3 separate regions of the Homo sapiens genome follow, and regions 1 and 3 are each linked to region 2. The links are contacts of gene promoters, found by promoter capture Hi-C in human tissues and cell types (Jung and others, 2019). All regions are on one chromosome and are shown on one strand. Each heading gives the region's core, a stretch centred on a gene start or on the middle of the fragment in contact. The rest is flanking DNA. Distances are from core to core; before and after follow the strand shown. Region 1 has its middle 240 kb from the start of PRDM2. Region 2 holds the start of PRDM2 (PR/SET domain 2). Region 3 has its middle 210 kb from the start of PRDM2.

The links. The method cuts DNA at HindIII sites, captures the fragments that hold promoters and counts their contacts. A contact is called where the count stands out against the background at its distance.
Region 1: a contact is called between a fragment that was not itself captured here and the fragment with the promoter of PRDM2 in region 2, in 2 of the 25 tissues and cell types used here (dorsolateral prefrontal cortex and mesenchymal stem cells).
Region 3: a contact is called between a fragment that was not itself captured here and the fragment with the promoter of PRDM2 in region 2, in 2 of the 25 tissues and cell types used here (liver and mesenchymal stem cells).

The regions. Positions count from the first base shown.
Region 1 is chr1:13,935,142-13,938,018 of GRCh38, reverse strand. It overlaps a transcript of KAZN not described here. Among named protein-coding and RNA genes, the nearest start is that of PRDM2, 240 kb to the right of the region's middle. The HindIII fragment of the contact is 7,537 bases long and covers 1-2,877 here.
Region 2 is chr1:13,698,931-13,701,635 of GRCh38, reverse strand. It overlaps PRDM2 (PR/SET domain 2), which reads right to left and starts at 1,448. Exons shown (of 10, transcript NM_001393986.1): 1 at 1,336-1,448. RefSeq lists a silencer at 926-1,695. The HindIII fragment of the contact is 18,174 bases long and covers 1-2,705 here.
Region 3 is chr1:13,909,377-13,912,235 of GRCh38, reverse strand. It overlaps a transcript of KAZN not described here. Among named protein-coding and RNA genes, the nearest start is that of PRDM2, 210 kb to the right of the region's middle. The HindIII fragment of the contact is 3,343 bases long and covers 1-2,859 here.

The DNA.
Region 1 (2,877 bases), core at 21-2,520, 240 kb before region 2:
AAAAAGAGTCTGAATAGCCAAAATACTCCTAAGCAAAAATAACAAAACTGGAGACATCACATTATCTAACTTCAAATTATACTATAATGATACTACAAGTTTATAACAGCATGGTACTGGCATAAAAATAGAAACATAGGTCAATTGAACAGAATAGAGAACCCAGAAATACAGCCACATACCTACAACCAGCTGATCTTTAACAAAGTCAACAAAAATATACACTGAGGAAAGACACCCTATTCAATAAATGGTGCTAGGAAAATTGGTTAGCCATTTACAAAAGAATAAAACTGGACCCATATCTCTCACTATACACAAAAATTAACTCAAGATGGATTAAAGACTTAAATATAAGACCTGAAACTCTAAAAATCCTTGAAGAAAACCTAGGAAAATCTCTTCTGGACATTGGTATAGGCCAAAGAACTTACGACTAAGTCCTCAAAAGCAAATGCAACGAAAACAAAAATAAACAAATGAGACTTAATTAAACTAAAAGCTTCTGCATAGCAAAAGAAATAATCAACAGAGTAAACAGACAACCTATGCAATGGGAGAAAATATTTGCAAACTATGCATCTGACAAAGTACTAATATCCAGGATCTACAAGGAACTCAAACAACTCATCAAGGAAAACAACAAATAACACCATTAAAAAGTGGGCAAAGGATGGCTGGGCATGGTGGCTCATGCCTGTGATCCCAGCACTTTGGGTGGCCAAGGCAGGCGGATCACGAGGTCGGGAGTTCAAGACCAGCCTGACTAACATGGTGACCCCATCTCTACTAAAAATACAAAAAATTAGCCGGGTGTGGTGGCATGTGCCTGTAATTCCAGCTACTCAGGAGGCTGAGGCAGGAGAATCACTTGAACCCAGGAGGCAGAGGTAATGGTGAGCTGAGATTGCACCACTGCACTCCAGCCTGGGCAACAGAGTGAGACTCCATTTCAAAAAAAAAAAAACAAAAGAAAAAAAAAGTGGGGAAAAAACATGAATGGACATTTTTCAAAAGAAGATATACAAGTGGCCAAAAAACATACATAAAAATGCTCAACATCACTAATCATCAGAGAAATGCAAATTAAAATCACAATGAGATACCATCTTGCACAGTTGTAATGGCTTGATTCAGCAATCCCACTACTGGCTATCTACCCAAAGGAAAAGAAATTGCTTTATAAAAAGACACCTGCACTAGTACGTTCATCACAGCCCTATTCACAATAGCAAAGTCATGAAATCGACATAACCTAAGTCTGTACACATATACATACACCATGGAATACTACCCAGCCATTAAAAAGAATGAAATCATATCTTTTGCAGCAACAAGAATAGAGCTGGAGTCCATTATCCTAAGTGAAATAATTCAGAAACAGAAAGTCAAATAGTGCATGTTCTCACTTTTAAGTAGAGCTAAACAATGGGTACACATGGACATAAACAGTGGGAAAACAGACCTTGGAGACTCCAAAAGGTGGAAGAGTGGGAGGGAGGTAAGGGTTGAAAAATTACCTGTTGAGTACAATGTTCATTATTCAAGTGATGGATACATTAAAATCTCAGACTTTACCACTACACAATATATCCATATAGCAAAACTGCACTTGTAGGCCAGGCATGGTGGCTCATGCCAGTAATCCCAGCACTTTGAGAGGCCAAGGCAGGTGAATCACCTGAAGTCAGGAGTTCGAGACCAGCCTGACCAACACGGAGAAACTCTGTCTCTACTAAATATACAAAAAAAAAATTAGCCAGGCATGGTGGTGCATGCCTGTAATCCCAGGTACTCAGGAGGCTGAGGCACGAGAATCGCTTGAACCTGGGAGGCAGAGGTTGTGGTGTGCCGAGATCGCACCATTGCACCCCAGCCTGGGCAACAAGAGCTTGAAACTCTGTCTCAAAAAAAAAAAAAAACTGCACTTGTACCACCTAAATCTATAAAAATAAAAATTTAAAAAGGAAACTAGAATATATAGTATAAATACTAGGATAAGATACACATACCAGATATGTAATGATATATACAAATCATATAATAGTATATATATTCTAGTATATATATTCTAGTTTTCTGATGATGTACATATATTAAATAATTTATCTGATTCTACACACACACACACACACACACACACACACACACACACATTAGGATGTAAAAGTAATTATCCACATTCTAGAAATGGGAAATCTGGGGCTCAGAGGTGTGAAGTGGCTTGCCCAGTCAGTAGTGACTTTGTCAGCTACTAAATTCAAACCAAACTATGAAGTTCATGTTCCATCTACTACCCCACGCTGTAAACTGTAATATTTATAGCGGGGATTGTCTTAATTCAAGATGCAACTACACATGTGTTTGTGGCTTATAGGCCAGTGCTGAAGCTCTCTGCTGGAAATGTAACCTCCCAACCGTGAGCTGCAGATAGGTGGCCAGCTCTCCAACCTCTTCACTCCCACACTTCTAAGCCATAAAATGGCATCCCCAAAGGCCAGGTTCTTGGAAAACAGCCAACGTTCTGTTAAGTAGGATGGTGGCAGCATAGCACAGCAGTCAAGATCACAGGCTCTGTTGCCAGATTGAGTGGGTTTGAATCCCCGTTTCTGCCCTTCCCAGTTGTTTCACCTTACACAAGTCTCTTGCATCACTTTCTGCATCATAAAATGAGAATTAAAACAGTTCAGCTTGTTGGAAAGATTGGATAACAGAATATATGTAAAATGCTTAGTCAGTACTGAAGGCTTATTATTATTATTATTACTACTACTACTATTTGATACGGAGTTTCGCTCTTGCTGCCCAGGCTGGAGTGCAATGGCGCCATCTCGGCTCACTGTAACCTCTGCCTCCTGGGTTCATGCGATTCTCCTG
Region 2 (2,705 bases), core at 199-2,698:
TAAGATTCTACATGTAAAAATTTGGCCAATAAGTGTTAGTCCGGAAGCCTCAAGAGTGATGGGGCAGTTTGGACCATCTCAAAAACACAGAACCCTACTAAAAAAGAACGTATGACAGTGTGTCTCAGTTCCTCCTCCTTAATATATGTAAATTTCCTATCATGTTTTTTTTTAAAAGGCCTACATTTTTCTAATACTTGGACACAACTGATCAAACCGAGGCGAAGTGTGTACCATTGTAAAAGAAATCATTGAAGAGTTCCATTTGTTGTTAAAAGTTTCGGTCACTTTTAATAAACCTGGAGTAAACAAAAACTTAAACATTTTAGTCGAGTTCTGGGGTAAAAATGATTCTTCTAGTGTCTGGTTAAAGGGATCTAAGGACCTACTGGGATTCAGCAAAAGACGTTCCACGTCTCAAATACACCCAAAATCTCAATACAACACTAAAAGAAAAGTGAGGGGCCAGCACGAAATTTCTGTTAGGGGAAATTTCAGCTGCGTAGTTAAGGAAATCAGGACTTCCCGGTTAACTATGGGGTCTTTGCCGCAGCTCACAGCCCGACACAAAGCTACAAGCCCGGAGGGTCGGTGGCTCACGCGTGGATCGAAAGAACCACGAAGGTTTGGGGAATGACACTGACCTGTTAGGTTTACTTCATGTCTCACTTACCACCATCAAAAGAGGTTCATTGATAGCTTTATTAGCAAAATTAGTAACAGAGTTGCACGTCTGTAACACACACACACGCGCGCGTGCGCACACACACACATACACCCGTGGGTCTATGGGAACATTGAGGGAGACAATCTCCAGGTTAAAACCACACAAAAACTATTTGGGAAACACAAAGACGCAAGACACAAAACAAATTTGGAGTGCAAATGTGCAAGACACACTCAGTGGGAACACAAAAGAGAAAAGCACAGCGGCTTGACAATTGGGACGGCGCCCGGCCCCACGTGGGGCCCCAGGTGGCCCCACCGCCGCCCGCACCCGGCCAGTCTCTGCAGCCCGCACGCGTCCCCCGCGGGGCGCGCGGCTCTTCACGGCGACAAACCGAATCCCGAACTTCGCCGCAGGGACCCCACGGCCGACAAGGAGGAGCCCGGCGCCGCCACCCACCCGCGGGGCCACCGACCCGGAGGCCCGCGCCTCGTCCCGGGGCCCCCGGCACGCCCGGGACCTCTGAGGGGGCGCGTCCGCCGACCCGGCCATCCCTGCGGCGCCGGGTCCCCAGCGTGTCGCCGCCGCCGTCGCCGCCGCGCTCCTCGGGGGGAGGGACCAGCGTCCCGGCGCGAGCCCAGAGGCCGCCCACCCGCGCCACTCCTTACCCGCGCCCGCCGCGCCAGCGCCTCAGAGCACCGAGGGCCGCCGCCGCCGCCGCTGTTTCGCCGGCCCCGGCGCCCGCGGCCGCGCCGCCGCCATCTTGACTCCAGTCGGAAGTGACGTCGGGCGGCGAGGCAGTGGCCTGCGGGGCTGGGGGGCTCCGGGACCCCCGGTCTCCCCACGATCCCAGAGCCCGGCCCTTGACCCTGCGCCGTCGCCCAATGGCCACCACCCAGCCGCCCCTCGTAGGTCACCGCGGATCCCATGGCGGCGCCTCGGGAAGGAACCCCGGCGGCTGGCGTCGCGGCAAGTCCGACCGCACCCTAGGGCTAGGATCCTGCGTGGTTCAAAGATTCTCAAAGAATCAAAAAGACTGAAGGAGGTGTTGGGGGGGCATGTCTATCGTTGGAGGTCATTAAATATCTGACAAGTACATAAACGTAGACCTTATACTTCTACGTTTGGATCTATACCAAAAAGATCCAACTCCAGGCAGACAGACGCAGCTGCTGGGTTTATTTGCTGCCCTAGTACCCAGGAGCAGTGACCAACGCTGCCCTGTGCCCGCGATGTTCCAGTGCAGCGCCTCTGAGAGCGCGGTAGTAGTCCTGCCCTTAAGGAGCTTGCTGTTCCCAAGCGGGCAAACAAATGGACTGCAGAGACGACGACTCATAGATGTTCTGATGAAGATGAACTGGGTGGAACTGGAGATGGCTCTTCGACATCCAAGGGTGGAGGCCTAGCACGTGGTTGAAAATGAGTTGAGTCGGGGAGAAGCACAGGCTGGAGATGAGCTGGAAAGTTGGGAGTTGTCGTTATAGATGGTGCCTGGAGCCTTCAGCACTTCAAGATAAAGTAATCCTCTGAGAATGAAGTCAGGAAGAATCCGAATGTGATGGCTACGTTGGCCATCTGCAGAAAGCACCCAGTGGAAAAACAGGATACTAAGGGCAGGTGTGCTTCCAAAAATTATGAACGATCATTTATGTAACAGGTTTAATCTTAAGAAAACGTGTTGGCCGGGCGCAGTGGCTCACGCCTGTAATCCCAGCACTTTGGGAGGCCAAGGCAGGTGGATCACGAGGTCAGGAGATCGAGACCATCCTGGCTAACACGGTGAAACCCCGTCTCTACTAAAACTACAAAAATTTAGCCGGCCGACGTGGCGGGTGCCTGTAGTCCCAGCTACTCCGGAGGCTGAGGCAGGAGAATGGCGTGAACCCAGGAGACGGAGCTTGCAGTGAGCCAAGATCGCCCCACTGCTCGCCAGCCTGGGCGACAGAGACAGACTCCATCTCAAAAAAGAAAGAAAACGTGTTGTATCAACATATATCATGTTATCTTATTGTAAAAGAATGAGGCTAGGCCGGGCGCG
Region 3 (2,859 bases), core at 298-2,797, 210 kb before region 2:
AACACTCTACGGTGCTCACCAATAATAAGATTTGACCTGTGTGCTGGGTAAAGGGGGTGCCCAGGGCAGCCCAGTGCTCGGCTGGGAAGCTGCCTTTGATCGTGAGCACTGGTCTTTGTGTTACTCCAAGCACATGGTCCTCTAGCATTTTCCATGCATTTTAATATAACCTTCATAGTGCCTACATTAGAGGCTTGCCATCTCCACTTCACATAAAAAGCCGTGGTTCAGAGAGATTTAAAACAATAGTAATGGGGAAAAAGAAACTTGTCCAAAATAACACATCAATAAATAGCCAAGCACAGCCAGAATGCAAATCTGACACCAAACCCACATCCTTCACTTCTTAGAACCACCTAGAAGGGACTTCTGGGGGCCCAAACCCAACCCCAACTTCCAGCAGATAACTGTCCTTATCAATCACAACTTCCCTTTCTGCCAAGCTGCATCATGCCTTATAACATTTTTTATTTAAGGACTAAGGATTTAATACATTAAATGATATTATACAGCAAACTCAAAATGCTTCTGTCTGGCCTCCCAGGTGATGTATGTTGTGAGGCAGGTTTCAAAATGAAAATTTTCAAAGTGGGACAATTTATATAGACCTCAAAGGACGTGATGTCTTCCTTCAGCATCAGAAAACAGGAGAATCTCATTTCTTCTGACTCAACCATGATGGATTATAATAGTTTCTCCTGATATCGTTTGGATACTTGTCCTCACCCAAATCTCATGCTGAATTGTGATTCCCCAGTGCTGAAGGTGGGGCCTGGTAAGAGGTGTTTGGGTCATGGGGACAAATTCCTCATGGCTTGGTGCTGACTTCAGGATCCCGAAAGTGAGTGGGTTCTCCAAGATCTGGTTGTTTATAAGTGTGTGGCACCAGCCAGGCACAGTGACTCATGACTGTAATCCCAGCACTTTGGGAGGCCGAGGCAGGTGAATTACCTGAGGTCAGGAAATCGAGACCAGCCTGGCCAACATGGTGAAACACCGTCTCTACCATAAATACAAAAATGAGACAGGCGTGGTGGTGAGCACCTGTAACTCCAGTTGCTTGGGAGGCTGAGGCAGAAGAATTGCTTGAACCCGGGAGGTGGAGGTTGCAGTGAGCTGAGATGGCACCATTGCACTCCAGCCTGGGTGACAGAGCGAGACTCCATCTCAAAAACAAAATGAAACAAAACAAAAGTGTGTGCCATTTCCTCCATCTCTCTCTTGTTCCTGTCTTCCCCATGTCATGCACCTCCTTCCCCTTTGTCTTCCATCATGATTGGAAGCTTTCTGGGACTTCCCAGAAACAGAAGACGCCATGCTTCCTGTACAGCCTACAGAATTGTGAGCCAATAAAACCCCTTTTCTTTATAAATTACCCAGTCTCAGGTATTTCTTTATAGCAGTGCAAGAACAGCCGAACACACCTACATATCTCTTCTTATTATGGGAAAGCACCTGGAAATTGGGTGGGAGTTAGGCCCTATATTAGTCTGTTCTCACATTACTATAAAAAAGAAAAAACCTGGGAATGGGTAATTTATAAAGAAAAGGAGTTTAATTGGCTACGGTTCTGTAGGCTGTACAGGAAGCATGATGCTAGCATCCGCTCTGCTTCTGGGGAAGCCTCAGGAAACTTGCAATTGGGGCAGAAGGCAAATGGGGAGCCAGGAACTTTATATGGTGAAGCAGGAGCAAGGTGGGGGAGGTGTCACACACACTTTTTTTTTTTTAGACAGAGTCTCACTCTGTTGCCAGGCTGGAGTGCGGTGGTATGATCTCAGCTCACTGCAACCTCCGACTCCCTGGTTCAGACGATTCTCCTGCCTCAACCTCCTGGGTAGCTGGGATTACAGGCATGCACCACCACACCCAGCTAATTTTTTGTATTTTTAGTAGAGATGAGGTTTCACCATGTTGGCCAGGATGGTCTCGATCTCCTGACCTCGTGATCCACTCACCTCAGCCTCCCAAAGTGCTGGGATTACAGGCGTCAGCCACCACACCCAGCCTGTGTCACATACTTTTAAACAATCAGATCTCATGAGAACTCACTATCGCCGCAGCAGCATCAAGGAGGATAGTGTTAAACCATAAGAACTTGCCTTTATGATCCAATCACCTCCCCCCAGGCCACACTTCCAACATTGCGGGTTACCATTCAACATGAGATTTGGATGGGGACACAGATCTAAACCATACCAGACCCCACTGAAAGTATCCAGTCCAAATGCCAGCTATTGGGAGTGGCATCTGGGCCCTTCCTAATCAGCCTTCTCCACTCAGGAGTGAGATTGACCACCATCATCTGGGTTTAAACGAGGCCTCCATGAGCCTCAACATTTGAAGCGGATTCCCTGAAGCCAGCCAAGAAGAGGGGCTAGAGCTGCCTCTGGTCTCCCTTCTACATTTCCACCGCTACAGATTACCCACCTTATTCTCAGGGTTCAACTCAGACCAAATCTTTCCATAAGGCTAGCAGAAGGAGGACTCTGCCCTCATAAATGCTTAATTCGTCTTGCTACATTTTTAAACCAGGCCTTCATCATAAGAAGCAGCCAAGAAAGAAAGGTCTTATTTTATTTTATCCTAAATAAGACCAAGCTTATTAATAAATAAGCCCAAATCAATATTCAGTATTGATTTGCAATTCTCTGAAGAAAATGTGGGTGTAGGAACAGGTGGGTGGCAAAGCAGGGTGCAAGAAGACCATTTTGTGGGGGAAACCCTGGCTGAGATAGAACATATCCAGGCAGATTCCCCCTTATTCACAACCTCCCCCACCTTCCAATGCTAGACGGGAGCTCTCCTCCTCACTACCTAAGAGAGAGAAATCAATACCTCCCTCCTCACCCTCTTGCC